Regions from separate parts of the Homo sapiens genome. Here all the other regions are linked to region 1. Evidence: promoter capture Hi-C in 16 types of primary human blood cells and fetal thymus (Javierre and others, 2016). All regions are on one chromosome and are shown on one strand. The core of a region is centred on a gene start or on the middle of the fragment in contact, and the rest is flanking DNA. Distances in the headings are between cores, read along the strand shown.

What was found. The method cuts DNA at HindIII sites, captures the fragments that hold promoters and counts their contacts. A CHiCAGO score of 5 or more calls a contact.
Region 2: a fragment that was not itself captured here is called in contact with the fragment with the promoter of CTTNBP2 in region 1 in 1 of 17 cell types (megakaryocytes); the score reaches 7.1 in megakaryocytes.
Region 3: a fragment that was not itself captured here is called in contact with the fragment with the promoter of CTTNBP2 in region 1 in 1 of 17 cell types (megakaryocytes); the score reaches 11.0 in megakaryocytes.
Region 4: a fragment that was not itself captured here is called in contact with the fragment with the promoter of CTTNBP2 in region 1 in 3 of 17 cell types (megakaryocytes, erythroblasts and M2 macrophages); the score reaches 11.5 in megakaryocytes.
Region 5: a fragment that was not itself captured here is called in contact with the fragment with the promoter of CTTNBP2 in region 1 in 1 of 17 cell types (megakaryocytes); the score reaches 5.4 in megakaryocytes.
Region 6: a contact is called between a fragment that was not itself captured here and the fragment with the promoter of CTTNBP2 in region 1, in 2 of 17 cell types (megakaryocytes and erythroblasts). The highest score is 7.9, in megakaryocytes.

Annotation. Positions count from the first base shown.
Region 1 is chr7:117,871,716-117,874,996 of GRCh38, forward strand. It overlaps CTTNBP2 (cortactin binding protein 2), which reads right to left and starts at 1,726. Exons shown (of 23, transcript NM_033427.3): 1 at 1,620-1,726. The coding sequence starts at 1,700. The HindIII fragment of the contact is 3,697 bases long and covers 1-2,969 here.
Region 2 is chr7:118,193,161-118,196,221 of GRCh38, forward strand. It overlaps LSM8 (LSM8 homolog, U6 small nuclear RNA associated), which reads left to right. Exons shown (of 4, transcript NM_016200.5): 4 at 1-3,061. Among named protein-coding and RNA genes, the nearest start is that of LSM8, 11 kb to the left of the region's middle. RefSeq lists an enhancer at 2,868-2,927. The HindIII fragment of the contact is 3,107 bases long and covers 1-3,059 here.
Region 3 is chr7:118,155,611-118,159,077 of GRCh38, forward strand. The region is part of intron 2 of LOC105375470 (a long non-coding RNA gene); the gene reads right to left. Among named protein-coding and RNA genes, the nearest start is that of LSM8, 27 kb to the right of the region's middle. The HindIII fragment of the contact is 804 bases long and covers 1,182-1,985 here.
Region 4 is chr7:117,458,339-117,461,683 of GRCh38, forward strand. The region is part of intron 1 of LOC105375468 (a long non-coding RNA gene); the gene reads left to right. Among named protein-coding and RNA genes, the nearest start is that of CFTR, 20 kb to the right of the region's middle. RefSeq lists a cis regulatory region at 839-852. The HindIII fragment of the contact is 1,043 bases long and covers 808-1,850 here.
Region 5 is chr7:118,214,001-118,217,256 of GRCh38, forward strand. No RefSeq gene overlaps it. Among named protein-coding and RNA genes, the nearest start is that of ANKRD7, 9.1 kb to the right of the region's middle. The HindIII fragment of the contact is 995 bases long and covers 808-1,802 here.
Region 6 is chr7:118,176,103-118,179,170 of GRCh38, forward strand. The region is part of intron 1 of LOC105375470 (a long non-coding RNA gene); the gene reads right to left. Among named protein-coding and RNA genes, the nearest start is that of LSM8, 6.5 kb to the right of the region's middle. The HindIII fragment of the contact is 7,095 bases long and covers 1-3,068 here.

The DNA.
Region 1 (3,281 bases), core at 476-2,975:
AATATTGAGGGTAACAGAAACCCATTCTGAGTGGATTAAGTAAACAAATTCAACCTTTCTGGGGAACAAGAAACACACCACACACACACACACACACACACACCCTCTTTCTTTTTCGTCCTTCCCCTTCACACACACACACACACACACACACACACACCCTCTTTCTTTTTCCTCGTCCTTCCCCTTCCCACCTTTTGGGGATGAAGGCACCAAATCATTTCCACTTGCCAGAGAGCCTTGTCTCAATAGCTAGTTTCCTTACTGTGCCCCACAGAGGGGAGCTGATTCACATAAGTGGGCAGGTTTCGTTTGAAATCTTAAAGTTCTCATTTTCTATGCAAAGAATGGAAACTCAATTTTCCCAAAAGTTCAAATCAAAACTTGCCAGTTTTACAAGTGGAAATTAGCAGTCCTCCTCCCCGTTTCTCCTTCCATTGCCAGGCTCAGCTCCTCTCACCCCAAGTACCTTCCTCCACATCTCTCCTCTCCCTCTCCAGAAAGCCCTACCTCCAGAGGGTGGGAGGAAGTTAAAGCGGCCCCCGCTGTTTACGCCCGGCCCTGCCCTCTCCTGCACTGATTCTGCTCAGGTCTTGATAGGAAGAGGGGGGCGTCCACGCCCCGCTCGCTCCATCCCACCCCATCCTTCGGCGGGAGCAGCCAGATCTGGCCAAGAGTGGGAGGCGCTCCCAGATCTGCCTTTCTCTGCAGCTCCTTGCAGCTCCTGCGAAGCTGCTTCCCAAACACCGAGAACCTTTTCCACCCAGGAAATGTGGGTCCAGCCCTTCCCCAAAGTAGAGGCTGGAAACCACCAGCGAGTCTCTACACCGGAATATTAAGGGGGTGAAAGTAAGGACCAGTCAAGAATGGTAGCGCATTCGGCCTCTAGACTCCAGAGAAGGAGAACAATGTCTTGAAACCAGGTGCAGAACCTCCACCTCTCCTGAGCATCGTCTCGGGAAGAACCAATCCATCCACCCCACCCCAATCACTACCACCAAGTAATGGGGCAGCAGGCTGCTAGGACCTAAAGCGCTGGCCTCAGCGGCAGCAGCGCCCACATCTGGACACGGCCCTCTCCCAGTGGGCCTCCCGAAGGCACAGGACCAGATGCACACAATGGGCATCCCCACACCTGCTGGGCGATGGCCCACCTCCCCCAAGCTGCTCTCCCGGGTCCGCTGAGCGGTACCAGGCACCCCCGAGACACGCGCTGGCAACCACGCGCGCAGCGAGAGGTGAACAATGGGGGGTCAAATTCGCCAGGAAACACGTCCCAGCCTTCTCCCCCGGCCAGAAGCGACCGCAGCGGAGGGAGTGGGCATAGGGGTCGCACTGGACGCAGACAGGGAGCTGGGAGAACCGGGCGACCCGGGGCCGCTTCCCGTGGGGCGCGGAAGGGACAGGAGGGATCCCCAGCCAGGGTGGCCGCTCCGCTCCCCCCCGCGGCCTCCGCCGTGTGGGCATCCCGAGGAAGGGGGGCCCCGATGAAGGGGCACCGGAGAGTCCCGGGCTTACGGAACGCCCCGGGGGTGCGAAGTCGGGTCCGGCTGGGACCCCGGCGCCGCCCCCGGCCCGCGTCTACACTAGCCCCGCGCCCGCCCCGGGAACTCGGTTACCGCCGCCTCCGCCGCGGCCCCCGCCGCGTCCTCCGGGGCCCGGGACAAGTCGGGCTCGCAGCTCGCGCCGTCCGTCGCCATCTTCCTGCTCTAGCGGATCCGAATGCGAGCTCGGAGCCGCGGCTCCGGACTCAGCCGTCTCCGCGCGGGCGGCACTTAACCCGCTGCTGTCCGGGACGCGGGCGCCTGGAGCCGGGAGCCGGGAGCCGCGGCACTCCCTCCGCCCCTCGCCACCGCCCTCGCCGCTTAACCCGCTGCGCGCCGGAGCGCCCCGCCTCGGTCCCGCCCCGCGCCCCGCGTCCCGCGCCCGGTGGCGCCAGCCGCGGGCTCGTGGAGGTGCGAGAAATGGGCGCACGACCTGGCTCCGCTGCGGCCCTGCGCGGGGACTGGGGATCAAAGACCACGGAAGAGGTGAAGGCAGAAAGCGCCCGAGGAGCGTTGCATTCCGCAGAACCCCAACCAAGCCGGAGAAATCCGTGCACAGACCAGATTAAATGTCAGGCCTCCTGAATCTGAATTCTCTGAAAGATCAGGGAAAATCCTACACTTCAGCTCCCTCTATCCCACCGCGAGGAATCACACAGGGCACCCCTTTCTTCTTAAATTGCTCTTTCTTAAATTTCATTGCCGCCAGGGTGTTTTTATCCTCCCTATATATATACACACCTGGCTCTGATTTATTCTATCGTTGACTCTAGTGTTTCTCCAAAAACAATTCTCAGATGAAAACGATTTGTCTGTCCTGTTTTCTTTTAGAACGTGGCACCAGCCCCTCAGCTCCTAACTTTCTATACAATCTCCTTTTCAGGGAATGTGTAGCGGGCTGTTTTATATTCTGTGACCCCCCTAAGTCTGAGATCTCTCCTGAAGGACTAACTGAGAAGTGTTAAATGTCATAGCTTTAAAAGCTAAATGTCATGTCCTCTACTTTTGAGAGAATTTAAAAAAATTACTCCCTACGTGTGAGGACACGTGTACATATACACCAAAAACAATCAAACAAAAGCCGTATTTGTAAAAATAGATTTTATGGGAATTACACGTCTCAGAAGATTTTTCATGAGATGAGTGAATTAGGCCCAAACGCTTAATCTTCCCTTTCCACATCTAATTCAGTTCCTACCCTTTGCTGCCAATTTCCAGAATGTGAAAATCTATCACCTCACCAAGACCATATGGTACAGCCCTTCCCAAATCACCAGATCCCTAAAAATGTGTCGAATGCATAAAATCAAATTGAGACATTCAAGCTGTGTCTCAAAGACGTAAAATCAAACCACAACCAAATCTTGCACTTGAAATTTTGGAAGATGAATGACTAGAATGTTCAGTCCAAGGGTTACAGATCAAAGCTTTTTTTTTTTTTTTCCTTTTTTCTTTCTTTCTTTCTTTCTTCTTTTTTTAATGGCAGGCTCCTAATGAAAGGTTTTGACTCTTTAATTGCTCCACTTTCCAAATTAGACCCAAATATGACACAAACCAGGGCAGAGAAAATCTTTTCTGCAAAGACCCTGAAAGGGATTGATTAATAAACTGTGAAAAGTTCCCTCCCAGAAGAGAGGTCAAGAAAGAACTTTACCTAGAACTCTGGGGCTAAAAGTCAGAGGCTTAGAAATCATCTCCAGGTTATCCTGTGAGTACAGGTACTTATTTATTTATTTA
Region 2 (3,061 bases), core at 256-2,755, 320 kb after region 1:
GTGGTCTGTCACAGCTACTCACCTCTGCTATTGTGGCCTACAAATAACCATAGATAATACATAAATGAATAGTGGCTGTCTTCCAGTAAAACTTCATTTATAAAAATGGAGGTGGGGGTTGGATTGGGCTTGAAGGCATAGTTGCTGACCCTTGGCTTAATACAAGTTCAATAAGAAAAAATGAACAATTTGTATAAATTCTGGAATAGATCCTTATAGAGAGTTTAGAGGTGGGTTTCATTCATATTTTAAAATATTTTAAACTTCATACTTATTAAACATAATAGCTTTTTGGGGGAGGAAAATATCTTCACTCAAATCAGCCTTATAAGGGGAGAAGCACTATTCTCTAGAATTATTTGGTTGATGTTAAGGGCTGTCTCTGGGAGAATTAGAGAAGTTAGCTAGTATTGGCTATTCATAAGTACTTGACTTGTAGTATAATGTTTTATAATCAATTTATTAATAAAATGATGGAAAGTGGGTAAGGCAAACAGGCAAATTTAGGGACTGTGAATGAAATATTGTAGTATATGGCATTTTGAATTGGTAAAGTAATTCCAAAAATTAAATAAGAATACACATTGTTCAGTTGCTAAGAAAAATGCATTCTAACAGTACAAATGAAGTCCAGAGTCAGATCTTTTCTCAAAATACTTGGCATATCAACACATTACACATAAACAAATAAAAACCAGTCCTGTCCCTCATGATAATGGGTTTCTAATGTGATGTATTCTTGCAATCTGAAACACCTTATAAAGCTGTATTTTCCTGATTGATGTTGGAAAAAGCATTCCCAAAATGTGAATTATTGTTTTTATGAATAGTTACAGAGGATGTGATGACAATATGCCAGATAATCTATGTAATTCTTTATTCCTGGATACAAGCACATGGTGGACTGTTTTCTCACAACCGATTAAAATTGGATTTATTTTTGCATGAGAATTGTAAGGGAGCCACAACCATGAGTAGTAACATAATTAATATACAGTGTCAATATTTTATATTTAATGAGACATTTATTCTATAATCAGTTCTTATTTATAAAGAGGCGCAAATCAATTTCAACCTGTAATTACCTCTGTGCTTTGTGACTCAGGCACAATCTAAACCCAGCTTAATGAATCAAAGAGATGTTTCTTGGCAAGATATTTTCATTAAAGTTATTTGGAAAGGGCAATTAACTGCAAAAGGGACTTTTTTTTTTTTAACTGACAAGATACTATCTAAACTAATAGTTTAAAATAACATTGCTTTTATGTCAAAGCACTTTGGTAACTTGGCCTCACATGCTGACAGTTTTGGCTAAATATTACAAATCTTGATCCCAGAAGAGCAAGAGAGAAAGTTTTACTAATATTTGCTTAAACATCCTGTTTAACAACTTTATAACATCCTTCGGAATTTTTAAGGTAATAATGTGAGATATAAGTATGATAAAAACAACTTTTAAATGGTATTTAATGCAAATACAGAATAACGATGTCAACATTTTCCTCAGCCGTGTAACCTGAGATTCATCATGGGAATGAGAAAGTAAAGGCCCTTTGTAATGGCATGTGAACCAGACAATTTAGTAGCCAGGGTTGTAAGGCAACTCTTAACTGACAATATAGTTAGTATATTCTGGGCCTTCATCTTCAAAATTAGTAGGTAGTATTTATTGAGTGCATATCATGTGCCAGGCCTGGTGCTGAGTGCTTACAATGATCATTTTATATATGGGAAAATTGAGGCTCAGCAGGGTCAAGTGACTTGTAAGAGGTAGCACTAGTAAGTAACAGTGCTCAAATTCAACTAGGTCTTTCAGCTTTTTATACAATACTGCCTGTTATCAGAAAGTATAGTCTTAAAATCTGCTATCAAGCATCTATCAGAAGCCTGATGAGAAATATTCAGATGATCTAACGCAGTTCCCAAACCTGCATTGTGGGCCGTTTTCATTACAATTACCTAAGGTGCTTTAAAAATTTTCTTGGGCCCTACTCGTTGTGGTTCAGCAGCTGTGTAATGGAGCAAAAAGGAATAGTCACTAAACAGCGAAGGAAAGTGGTGGAATTATTAAAAGACCTAGCACTTACCTGCTGGGATGAGTCTCTAACCCCACAGAATTGATTTCAAACACAGGATCTTATTCAAGATAAGGATAATAACAGCTATCTTCTTGGGTTGTAAAAAGTAGCATTAGACTGCATTTTAAACATTTGGTATGATTTTGAGGACATAACCGTAAACAGCTATTTAATACTATTCCAGGTAGTCAAAGGCCAATGTATAAAAGTTAAAAATATAGGTCTTGTCAGCTTTTTAAGCGTCTGTCCCACTGACTACCATATCTCTACAAGAGAATAGATGAGGAATTGAGGTTATGTGGGAAGTACGTGTAAGTTTACAGTATTAAGAAATGTACAATAAAATTTGTTTCTATGTCAGCGAATATTCTTGACTCAAGGAGTTTGAAAGTGTAAACTCAAAGGTCTTTCACATGTAAAGAGGAACCTCTCCATTCTGTACTTGTATAGTCATTACCTCATATAGATTTAATTTTATTAAATTAAATTTTACTTATTTTGGGTTTAAAAAAACTTGGGCTGTGAATCTCAGTTTTAAGTCATGGGCAAATTTGATAAAAATTCCTTTCTGTCTACATGTAATACTGAAAAAAATGTTGATAAGGTAAAGCTATCTCCATTTAGATTGATACCCATTAAATAGCATAGTGCTCCCATTAAACTAGCGACAAATTCATTTAATTGTGAGATATCTAGTACTTATGCTCCATCCTGTTTATAGGGATTATTGATGTGAGATTTGGTCAGATGCTTTGATGTGATCTTCATTCCTCTGTATAGTGGGAAACCATGAGACGTGCTTAGTCTTCATAAATCGATGCTGCCTCCTAGTGGCCATTGCTTTCTTTTCTACCTGTCCACAAACTTCAAAAAAATAGATTTTGGAATTTTGTCAGGGACACTTATCAAGCCATTAATACATGCCAGGCAGTATGCTCAAAGCTGTGGATAGGCCAGGGAACAGTATTCTTGTGCTTGTGAAG
Region 3 (3,467 bases), core at 334-2,833, 280 kb after region 1:
AACTTCCTATGCATTCAGGTCATTGATGCAAGTACTCCATACAACCACATAGTTTCTCAATGATGTGGGGACATTCAACTCTTTCATCTCACCACTTTCTTATCCATCAGTCCCCTCCTGCCATTACTTCCCATCTTGTTCAACCCAGATCCCATAATCAATATAGTTCCCCCTTTGAAATACTTTCAACTCCCAGTCCTTTCTTTGCTTCACTTGAGCTGATCTTACAAAAAACCCAATCCATGGATGAACTCACTCTGCTTCAGACCTCTCTTTTTGCTATGTACGGAGATATTTAACTTTTTGTCTGTAGCTATATATGTAGAAACAAAAGGAAGGGCAGTTTCTTACATGACTCAGTGTTCAGCTTAATTTTTTTCTTTTGGCATAGTGAGTTGGAGTCCCGAGTATTTATTTTCCTTTCACGTTTCTCCCCCTCCTTTTTTTCTTTTTTTTTTTTAAAGTCTTTTGGAGAAAGCATTTTAGAATAAAATTAGTCTCTTGTCTCAAGTTCTGTCTGATCTCTTGTGGCTAGGGAAATTTATTCCTAGATAAATAGGTCTCATGTTATGAAAGCTCATTTTTACCATGTTGTAGTCTCACTACCACAAGAAAAAATAGGGGGAGGAAGAGAGAAACAAAACAAAGGAAAAAAAGGAGAAAATAACAAAAAAACAACAAAGGGAAAACAATCCTGGAAAAGTAATAAATAACATATTACTCTGAAGTCTATACATAAGATTGCAGGTATGAAAATGGTTTATAAATAGGTTGCTGTTATTTTCTTCCAAAATTTAACTTGCCTAGCTTCCATATTTCTAATCAGAAAAAAAGGGGCGGGGGGAGGAAAAGAAGGAAGAAAAAAATTGAAAACATGATTTTGGAGACTTTTGATCAGGAAAGATTTTAGAATTCAGTCCAAATTGTAGAAAAATAATAAAAATTAAGTAACACTAGACAAGGCTAAAATCTAATAACAAGTGTACTATAGTTTATTCTGAAACATGATTTTTTTCTCTCTAATTCCCTAATTTTGTTAAACACAAAATCATAATAGGACAAACTTATCTGTAAAATAAGTTTTAGTCGTATTATACTTGGCTTGATTATTTGCATAAGGTGCAGCAAGAATAATCATTTACTATACTGGCTCCCTCTTTTTTGAAATTGGCTTTGCTGGAAGCTTTTCCATAAGGAATCTAAGATTAGACCTTTTTAAAAGCCTCACGCCCAGCCAACAATTTATCTGTGCCTGCAGATACCTGTTTGAATTGGGTGAATTCCTCTCTTTTTGAGGTCCCAAGAAAACTTGGGGTTCCTGGGCCTATCATAAAGAGACATTCTTTACTTAAGACAAGTCAGGACCTTGTAAAGGACAATGTATGAGGTCAGTTTTTCCAAAGGGCTTTTATCAACTCTATAGGTCAGCCTGCTCTAGATTGGATCAACAATCCTCATTAATACATCAGCTCTCCATGAGAGTCCTGGAAGTTTTCTCTCTATTCCAATGGCACAATTTCTAAAGTTACCAGAAACTTATATTTAAGAGTACTTCTCAGAGTATTATTGCTGATTATAAATCACCCCATAGAAGGATCAAAGTAAAACAACAATTGTGGATGACAAAGGTCTTAGCACAGTCATGGTTAAAGACAGAATTGACAAGGAAATTGGGTTACTTTTGTGGCATACAACAATTTTACATAATAATCATAATCGCTACTGATAACATATATTAAGACATAACAGAATCACAGGAATCTCATACAATTTTGGAACACATACTAATAACCCATTTATATAAACATAATCCAAATAAGGTTAAACACCATTTTGAATTTGACAATGCTTTCTGTATGATGTTTATTATACCAAATAAGCTGAACATGTCTCTTTTGGGCTTCAGAAGACCTAATATCAAAAATTAATGAAGTCAACAGAACTGAATTTAAAATTTGATATTAGAAAGTTTGTCAAATATAAAAAGCTTAAAACACTTCATATCACATAGTAGAATCACAGGTTATTGTAAAATAAGTCATTCATTTAGCCAAAATTATAACTCAAAGATTTCCAAGAAAAGGCAAAAATCTTTATTGAGAGAGGAGGCCTTAATTTCCCAAACAACAAGCCCTTGAAAAGACAGCATGAGGCCAACTAAATCTGTCTCTCAAATCTTACAAACAAATGTATTAAATTTTAAATATCTTGACTAAAAGATATAATTTTCATATACCTTTTTATAACCTCCTATAATTTTTTATTAAATAGTTGGTTAGTGCTTCAAGAAAACCTTGTTAATCTGACACAGGGGCCTAGATGCTGGTTTGCATTAGTGTGCTTTTGATATTAATGTTTAATTTACAGAGAAACTCTGAACAAATTTTGTCTCTCAAAATTGGCCCTTACAACCTCAAATGTCCACCTGTTCTGCAATAGTCCCTGGGTCCAGAGGTATTGAATAGTTTTAATTTCTGGCTCTGTGTCTCATGAACATGGTGTATTTTGATTGTCATTTTCTCCCAGGTCTGAAAATGAGGCTTTAATTGTTGTCAGTGTTGAGATTTAGCAGGACTTAGTGTCCTTTTTAGACCCATGCATCAAAGCCCTGTAACTTGACAGCACAAGGACTTTTAAAGCAATACAGAAAGTTACATGGATGAGATAACCTTAATTTTTAAAATGTTTAAATCTCAGTTTTCCTAAGCAAATCAAAATTTAGTAACAATGACCTAGGAATTATTTTGATAAAATGTAAAATCCATTAGGCCATTTACCAAAAGGCAAAAAACAAAACAAAACAATAAAAACCAATCTTCTGCAGTGGGACTACTTTTCCCTATAAGGAGTCCACTTAGATAACCTGCAAGTCAAAACTAATGAAAATGGTACTTGAATTAGATATAGGAAGAGTATGAAGCCAAGAGCACAGAATGTTATACTGGAAGAAAATATGTCCTTTAGGCCTTTAAGGTAAAACATTTTTAGCTTTAGGCCACAAGAGTAGTTAGAAGCTGAGTGAAAAAATTACAGGAGCTGACAAAAAAGTTGAAGGAGAATGGTATTATCTCAGTCCTTCTTGAAGGAGAGAGAGAGCTGAAAACAGTGAGACATGATAAAAGTTGAACTTTTGGGTTAAAAAATTAAAATCTTGTAATTTTATTAAGCATAAATAAATACCTTAAGAAAATCTTGTTGTTCTAACCAATTCTTTAGCATATTAGTTTATTTTTAATATCAAAGCCCAATCTCTAAAAGACTATTATAAATAATTTCCTTTTAATTATAGCCAACTTAATCACAGTTTTTTTCCATAAATTCTCCTTTTACAAACCTTATTGCAACTTATACAAACCATTTCCAACATGCTTGGACTTGCTGTTTTGTCCTAAACATCCCTCATTCCTAAATAACCAGTGAGTTTACTTTAGGACAAAAATTTACCATATAAGATTCTTTCTCATATA
Region 4 (3,345 bases), core at 79-2,578, 410 kb before region 1:
AATTTTATATTCAACATTGGTGAAAATGTTGGTCAGGGAGGACTAAAGATGAAGCCCTGTAGACCATCCTTATTAACTTCTATCTTGGCTCACAGTGATCCATTAGACCCTTTTGGACATGGTCATTCAGTCAATTATGACTAGTGCTAATGGAACTCACATCTAGTCCATGCTTATTTGGTCAATAAGAATGTAAAGATAGAAATGACATAAAATGGCTGGGCGCAGTGCCTCACGCCTGTAATCCCAGCACTTTGGGAGGCCAAGGTGGGTGGACCACCTGAGGTCAGGAGTTTGAGACCAGCCTGGCCAACGTGGTGAAACCCCATCTCTACTAAGAATACAAAAATTAGCCAGCCATCGTGGTGGGCACCCGTAATCCCAGCTCCTCGGGAGGCTGAGACAGGAGAATCGCTTGAACGCAGGAGGCGGAGGTCGCACTGAGCCGAGATCGCGCCACTGCACTTCAGCCTGGGCAACAAAGAGTGAGACTCAGTTTCAAAAAAGAAAAAAAGAAAGAAATGACATAAAATATCTTTCATAATATTTTTAGATGTCTGTTAGATGTTTGTACTCTTATTTTAGCATGGTCATTTACCTAAACTTTGTTAAAATAGTGAAATATTTCCAAAGCCTCCTAATTTTTTTTACGCCAATCCTAACTCACAGGCAACATTTAATGTATGAATATTGCTTCCAAGAAGAGTGGTGGGATAATATGATGGCAAATTAATCTGGTATAATGAAAAATGTTATAACACTAAATTTTTTTTGTATAAAAGTGTGCTTTTCCGGGATGTTGTTTGAAGCTTCTTTACTTTTCACTTTTCTCTTTTCACCAGCAGAGGGCAGGTAAGGAAGAGAGAAGAAAATACTATAAAAGTATCTCGTCCTCTATTCAACTATTTAAAACACTTCTCTGATACATTTACAAAGTGAGCTATTTTGTTTTCTCTTTAGTTATGCTATTTTGAAAATAATTGATCTAAGTATAAATTTTAATTTCTTACATATATTTGGTTTAATGAATCTCCAATGAAATTTGTACTTTGAATTTTTAATTGTTTATAAACCAATTATAAATTCAGACTTGAAAAGTCTGAATATTCTTTATATTTTGAAGTGATAAAAATGTCCCCTTTTATTTTGGGTAATTCAATTAATTAGACTTTTTCCTTTTATGGTTTTCTAATTCAATTATGGGTAAGTTTATGTGAATGTTTTCCATAGACATCTTAATATAGCCATTTGGTCATTTCCTTCAACATGCAGAGTTGTTAAGCATGGTTTTCAGTTTTATTAATCAAGTAATGTATCTTATAAACATAACTGAAGGAAACTCAAATGGGATGTGATGGAGTTTTTTTTTTTTTTTTTTTTTTTCAATAATATACCTTACAGGAATGTTTAAATATAGTTTTAGTAAGTATATTAGGATATTTTCTCTTGAAACTTTAAATTTAATTAATAATAAAACATCTTTTTCAAAACATTAGATGATGTGATAAACTATGTAATTCAACAGTTCAGAACAGCTTGCATGTAACCTTTGTTAAATCAAAAGTCAGGTGGCAACCTGGATTTTTGCCTGTTCAGCTTGAATAATGGCATTGTTCTGGAAGTACAGTAGTGGAGAGAGATTGAGTAATTCCTGGGAAGATAAATCCCCATATTGCTTATTCCAAGTACTAGAAATTACTTCTTTCCTTTGCTTATTGATTACCTCATCTTTAAGAATCTTTTTTTAACTGTCAAGCAAGGTTATGTATTAGGACTCCCCTTGGTCATACTAAGGAATATTTCCAAATACTGGACAAAAATGAACTTCCTCAGGTCACCTAATGAATACAAGCTTATAGTTATTATAGCTTAGAACATAGGTGTAGGGAAGAAAACAAAGAAAGGATCCCCGGGACTAAGCAAAAAGGAAATTCTTCCAATTAGGCAGAGTGATGAAGCTTCAGGCCTAGGGTTGCTGTGACAGCCTCTTTACTGATTGCCCATACGATGTCTTCCTTTTCCACTAGGCCACCATGTGTATTTATTCTACTTTTTTCTTTCTAAAATGCAACACGTTGATGTTATTTCCTTACTCAAAACCCCATACTAACTCCCTTTTGCCAATGATAGTAGGTGTGGGACTTCTTTTCTGCCATTTCAGACTCTGAACAAGGTCTCAATCTGATTTTCCACATTTACTCCTTCCTCTGCTTTTCACAAACCATGCAAACAGTGCGATTTCAAAAGTATGTCCCTTTCTACTCATATCTTTCTCAGTCATCTCTGCCTGTCAGAGGCCCTTTGTCTTTCTTTTTATTTAGTTTAATTTAATTTATTTATTATTATTATTATTATACTTTAAGTTGTAGGGTACATGTGCACAACGTGCAGGTTTGTTACATATGTATACATGTGCCATGTTGGTGTGCCCATTAACTCGTCATTTACATTAGGTATATCTCCTAATGCTATCCCTCCCCACTCCCCCAACCCCACGACAGGCCATGGTGTGTGATGTTCCCCATCCTGTGTCCAAGTGTTCTCATTGTTCAATTCCCACCTATGAATGAGAACATGCGGTGTTTGGTTTTCTGTCCTTGCGACAGTTTGCTCAGAATGATGGTTTCCAGCTTCATCCATGTCCCTACAAAGGACATGAACTCATCCTTTTTTATGGCTGCATAGTATTCCATGGTGTATATGTGCAGTGGCCCCTTGTCTTTCAAGATCCATTGTCAATGACATTTTCTCCTGAAGACATATCTTATTCTTAACTGGATGATCTTTGGTGCCCTTAAGTCTCATGGCTATTTGCATCTCTAGAGTGGCCCTCATCATATTCTATTATCTATTATTCGTATTTGTATATTTGTTTCTCTTTATATGCCAACTATAAGCTCCTTGATAGTAGGGACTGTGTCTTGGTGTCCCCAGAGATTAGCATGATGTCCTGCAACTGGCAGAGTCATTCAGAGACACCAGGGCTCTTTGTATTTTTTCAGGCCCTCAGTATATTAAAAACTGAAAAATGCCAGGGTTACAAAATTGTGGCATATTTTAAATGTTACGTCAAAAAATGGATGTGATGAAAACACATACATGCCCACAATAATCCCCAATGTAATTGTGTGCTGCTTAAGATAATTATAGGATTTCTAAAATATTTAACTCATGCTATTTTTAAGTTGGCATAGTCTGATAACTGTACGCAAGTATAGTGTTGTGTGTTTTGCGTGTTTTCTTCTTTCTGTCTTGTCAGTTTACCTCTAGGACTGTTAATCTGAGGCCTTGGCCAACGGACCCTCTGGACTCTCTATGAGGGGCCCTCACATGTAGATCTCTGAT
Region 5 (3,256 bases), core at 55-2,554, 340 kb after region 1:
CTTCGGTGTCCCTGACTGAAGGAGCCTTAGAAGGACAGAACAGGCCTCTCAGAACTTGAGGACTTGACCAGCTCCGCAGCGATGGAGTCGAGGTCGGAGTGCGCCTCTCCTAGAATCCGTCCTGGGCTCAGCTCCACGGGGCCTGTCTGCGCCGTCCTGTTACCTGTCCTTTTTGACTCCTAGGTTGAGCCCATAGATCCTCATCAAAACACTGTGCTGCACTTTCGCCACGTTTCCCACGCGGCACCCCGGTGGATTTTCCCGAGCTCTGTCATGGGGCACGGTTCCCATCCCTCGTCTCTAGCCAGCGCCCTGAGAGGCCTCTCCTCTAGCCCCAGAGGAGCCGGGGGCCACTGTCCCTTTATTCTACGGGAGAACAAACCATTTCATCTCTCTGGGGAGAGGGTTCAGGATACCGCGGACAAGTCCAGACGCACAACTCTCTTCTCTGCTTTTCGCAGGAACCCTTACACTAGCGCTGGGTCAAAGAAGCAGGTCTCGCCGTGGCCCCGCCGCAGCAAAGCCCTGCTGCTTACAAATCATGACTTCTGAGGCGGGCAAGGACGCCACGCCCAACTCCGTAAATGGCAGGTTTGCCCATGCGCGCGTCCTTTTGGTGGGCGCAGACCCAGCGCGCATGCGCAGACCAAGCACGCCGGCTCTAGCGGTGGTGGTCTTTGCTAGGTCTGGAGGTAGAGCAGATGCTGAGGCGTTCAAAGGAAGGCGGTGCCTGTGGACAAGCAGGCTTGCACAGGATCTGGCCCGTGCCGACCAGGGCGCCAGGACCCTGAAAGTCTCGTCCCAGTAAGCTTCCCCTGGCATCTTGCACTTAACAATTGTTTTTTTAAGAGTCTCCTTATCCCACTTTAATAGCAGCTACCTCAGTTCCGGAGCATATTCTCTTCCCACTTCCCTCTGGGCTCTTCCGCATATGTTTCTTGAAGGTAAAGGGGATGATTAATGATTGAGAGCCCATTCAGCAACCCATGTCCCAGCTGTGTTTTCAGAGAGTGTGGCAGCACATCTCCAAGGGAAACTTATAAGAAAGAAGAAAAGTACGCAGTCTAGATGTAAAGAAAAAAAGGTATTCAGCAGAATCACTCCTCCTGTCCTCTTCTGGCTCTGTCTCATTCCATAAAACCTTACCTTTAAATTTTAACCCTAATGTCAAATGAGTGTCATGAATTCAATCATAGAGATACACTTAAAAGATTTGAAGGAATCAAATGTGTAGCCAATGAGTGCAATTTATATCAAAGATACATGGTTCCAAGGATTCTGAAGTAGTATACACATAGGGTAAAGGAGAAAAGGTTCTCCTTTATGAGGTCGGTCCTGGGAAGTGACCAGTACATCATCTTTATATTACATCGAACGAAATGGAGCTATGGTTAATGTCTTAGTCTGTTTGTGCTGCTATGACAAAATTCCTTGAGACTGGATAATTTATAAACAATAGAAATTTATTTCTTACAGTTCTAGAGGCTGGGAATTCCAAGATCAAGGTGCCAGCAGTTTTGGTGTCTGCTGAGAGCCCAGTGTCTGCTTTCAAGATGATGTCTTAAACACTGTGTCCTCTAGAGGGGACAAATACTGTATCCTCACATGACAGACAGAAAGAAAGAGTTAAAAGGGCCAAGATAGTTATCTCCAGACCTTCTATAAGGCAGTAATCTCATCCATGAGGGCAGAGCCTTCATAGCCTAATCACCTCCAAAAGGCCCCTCTTAATACTGCTGGGTTGGGAAGTGAGTTTCAACATAAACTTTGGAGGAGATGCATTCAAACCCTAGCAGTTAAGAAGCTTGAAAATTATTATGCTTCTAAGTGGCTAAGTAGGAATTTGAATCTACTATATCATTTTCATTCTGTTACTAAGATTATCAATGGAAATAGTAAATATATTAAGGAGGCATACAATATGGAGAATTTTTCTCTTATAATGTTTGTACATGACAGAAAAAATAATTTAAAAACTTTAATAATAACTCATTAAATAGACACATTTTCTGAAGATTTAAAACTTAAAAATCAGGAGGCAAAGATATAATAATAGAATATGTGTCAGAGAGTGAATGTACAAATAGACAATGGCCAGACCATGTATGAAAGTAGAACTCTGACCCACAGCCTCTGCAGCCATCAGCCCAGAATGGTCAGTGACTGCCAGTATTTTGCCTCACTCCAACCAGAACCAACCAGAGAAAACCAAATAGATCCTCAAACCAATCACATAAGTTGCCCCATTTCTAGTCAGCCAACAACCCCCAATCAGAGCAAACCAGAAGCCTTTTCTTTTTTTCACCATTAAAGTTTTTTCATTTTCCTTTTTGCCTTTGAGTCTCTGTCAGATGCAAGTAATGATGGCTGACTCCCTTGCTATGCAAACTCTGAAAAAATAGGTTCTGGTTATTCTCATTTGGGTTATCTTTATGTGAACAGGTTCCCTAGACCAACAGCAAGATTTGGTCTATACCGCCTATTACTGCAGACCCCATCTTTCAACCAGTGGTTCCCGTGGAGACTCCTTGCACCTTGCTTTTCATGGCTTGTTGGGTCTTTGCTGATGTGACTAAGTCAGCACAAGTCTGCATTATGCTTTATGTGTGTGTGTTCAGTTCCTCTACTATTTTTTCTTCGATTTTCTTGGTTTCTTAATTTGGTATCTGGATTTTGCTACTGAGTCTCATTTGTTTGGCATCTTTGGTGAAATCAGGCCATTCTCTTTTGTCCCTTCTTGCTCTATTTTTGGGCTTTCATTTTGCATTGTGCTATCTAAAGTGTTGTTTGTCATGAGAAGGAGAATCACAAGATAAAACATATCCAGTGTTTTATAAGCCTGGTATTTAAGCTGGTCTCACAGACCAGTGAATGTACCAGGCTGGCATCCTGTTTGGACAGACTTTGTTTTTGGTCACCAAAAAAACTGGATGAGGTGTCAATTTTTTTGTCCTGAGATCTTGAATTTGAGTTCTGTTTCTGATTTTCCACCTGGCAGGGGATTGGGAGTGGGGCACATTGTAGAATCTGTGTTTGGAGCAGGTCAACCATCAGATCGGGTACCTGAGGTACAAAGTGTCCAAGCATCACTTTTGTCAACATGAGAATCACAAATGTATAAATTAAGAAAGGAGACTTTATTTTTTATAAAAGGTTGCAGCCTATAAGGTGGCCGGCCATTCTGACAGGCTGGGAAGCCTAGCCTTTAGCAAAGACTGTTAGCAGGCACTTTGAAGGAGGAAGTGTTGGGGCAGGA
Region 6 (3,068 bases), core at 36-2,535, 300 kb after region 1:
TGTTTGACATGTAAAGTAACAATCACAGTTCCCAGGGATTAGGATGTGGACATCTTTGGGGGTTGGGGGGGTAGGAGAGATTATTCTACCTTCCACAATATCTTAGTTGCCTTTCCTATTCTTCCCATTGGTAGTGACATCTGAAAAATGTCAACCTGCCTTTGAGTATTTGGACTCAAAGGTATACATATTCCTTCTGATTTCCGAAAAAGTCTACATACAATAGCAATGACGTATCCATGGATATGCGCTGATCATATGTACATATAAACTCAAAATTTTGTCCTTCAAGTAGAACAGTTACTTTTATTATTAACTATTGTAAGAAGCACTGAACTAGAATCCAGGAGGCCTTGATTGTAGGTTCTACTATGTAACCCTAAAAGAGTCAATGAACTTATTTGGGATTCAGTTTCCTAATCCACATGACACAGAATGTAAATTTGAAAATTCTTAGGTTCCCTTTTAGCTCTAAATATCTGTGATCCATAGTCTGAAAGAAAAAGGGTGGAAGTGGGAGAGTCATTCTGATTTGTTACAAAAATGAAACAAAACTTATATAATGAGAATTTATCAAAAATAAGGGAAAGCCTTGATTTTTTTCTGCCCCATATGTTTTTAATTTAAAATTTTTTTTTAATATTTAGGGGGTACAAGTGCAGCTTTCTTACATGCATATATGAAATCTGGGCTTTTAGTGCACCCATCACCTGAGTAGTGAGCATTGTACCCAATAAGTAATTTTCAACCCTTATTTGCTCCCCATGTGTTTTAATGTAATTTCAGGCATTTGCTTTCTATTGGTCACTCAAGGTTATTTATGTTTAGCTTTTGTCAATGTAATTCTTATACTTCACTCTCACTATTCCATTTACATTTCTATATACCTTCTTACATTATTCATCTCTCATTGCCTAACCTCAGTATTTTTCTCCAAAAAAAAAAAATCAATAAATTAGCATTGCTCTACCTTGCCATACAATGTCTGCAACAAGTCCAAATCAATCTGTTCCTTCTGTGTGGATTATAACATTAAGGAATGAATTCAGACTGAAGATCCTAGTGACCTAAGTAATTTCTGATATCAATATTATTTTCCAATTTTGGCATGCAAAAAATTCAATGGAAATGACAGTATAATTTTACCTGTATTGCAATCCAAGCTGCTAAAGACAATTTTTAAAAGCCAAGCAAAACAATAAAAAAGAAAGCAAATGTACTCAGCTTAAAATAAAGTTCCCTAATCTGGTTCACTATAGTGATAACACATACATGGTAATTTATTTTTTAAAAAAAGATATTGAAAAATGATCAGGTATGGGTGCTCCATTTGGATTAGTCATATGCTGTATGTGCTATTTAAATAAAGCTGCCCAAGTTATACGAATTCAAGTACCCTTCTAGGGCAAAGTCAGAGGTGGAAGAACTGCCTACCTAAAGAATTACTTGGTGCTAAAGGACAGTATGAACCACAGAAGGAGATAAGTAAAACAGGGGCAGGATGACATTATTTAAACTCCAGATTCTCAGTGGAATACTAACATAGTCTGTTATGTTACAGTATTGTCTTTTTTATTTTTTATTTTTGAGACAGGGTCTAGCTCTATCACCCAGGCTGGAGTGCAGTGAGAAGATCTTGGCTTACTGCAATCTTTGCCTCCTGGTCTCAAGGAATCCTCCCACTTCAGCCTCCTGAGTAGCTGGGACTACAGGTGCGCATCATCACGCCTGGCTAATTTTTTGTAGTGACAGGATTTCACCACATTGCCCAGGCTGGTCTGGAACTCCTGAGCTCAAGTAATCTGCCTGCCTTGGCCTTCCAAAGTGCTGGGGTTAAAGGCATGAGCCACTACACCCAGCCGAGTACTGTTTTTTATAGTACACATGAGGTCACATGAGATTGTTAAACAGGAGAGTAATGTTAGAATAATAGGGAAAGTGGGTTGGTTCATACATAATTTTTCATAGCACTTTAATGCTTTGTAGTACAAAGACACAATAGCTGAAGTACAATTATTGCACTTAGTTTTGTGATTGAACCAGGCCTGGGGGAGTATAGCACTCAAATGATGACCTTTCACGGTGTGGGACCCCATTCTTCCCTGGGCTTGGTTCAGCCATATGCTCCATTTTGATAGTGCTTATTTTGCAGCTCCCTCACATCTTTGGGCAAAAGCGACATCAGACAACGAGTCAGAGCCATCCATCTCTGGCAACTCCACATTTCCTGCAAAGTTTGCAACTGCTTCTCCATCTGCTACTTCTGATGATCTCCCGCCCTTGTTTCCATCACTCATCAGTGTCTACCCTTCTGTAAACTGTCATTCTTTAAGCAACCTTCAACTTTTTTAAAAAGGTAAAACTCTTTAAGTTAATATAACATTGCTTTATTTGTTAGGAGTTTTACACGTCCTTCTAAATGAACTACTATTTTCATTTCGGTTGTTATTGTCTGTTAATACTACAGTTCAGTGGTTGCCAGACTTTGTTGTTTATTAGTTAACTACGGATGTTTTAGAATACTGAGGCCCAGCTGAACCTCATTCTATTTAACTCAGAATGTCTTGAGTGTGGGAGCCAGCTATCAGTTTTTAAAGATCATATCAGTAAGTAGCAAAGTTTGGGAACCACCGCTCAGTTGTTCAGAGTTTGAGAGGGCTTTCCCAGACTTATTTTTTCCTTAGGCTCTTATTTTAAGTGAGCCATTTTCTTAAAATGTGAAGATTTTCAGGAATGTATTATACACAGCATATTATAGCCAGAATGTTTTGTCATTTTTTGGCTTCTGCTGTGGTCTGGATACTGGTGTCCTCCAAAATTCATATGTTGGAACCTAATATCCAATATGATAGCATTAAGAGATGGGGTCTTTTGGGAAGTAAGTCATAAGGACTCTGCCCTCATGAACAGGATTAGTGCCCTTACTGAAGAGGTTGAACGGAGCAGCCTTGCCCCCTTCTGCCATGTGAGGATGCAGCAAGAAAGTGTCATCTATAAGGAACAGGCCCTCATCAGACACAGAGTCTACTGTTGCTTTGATCTTGGATTTCTCAGCCTCCAGAACTGTA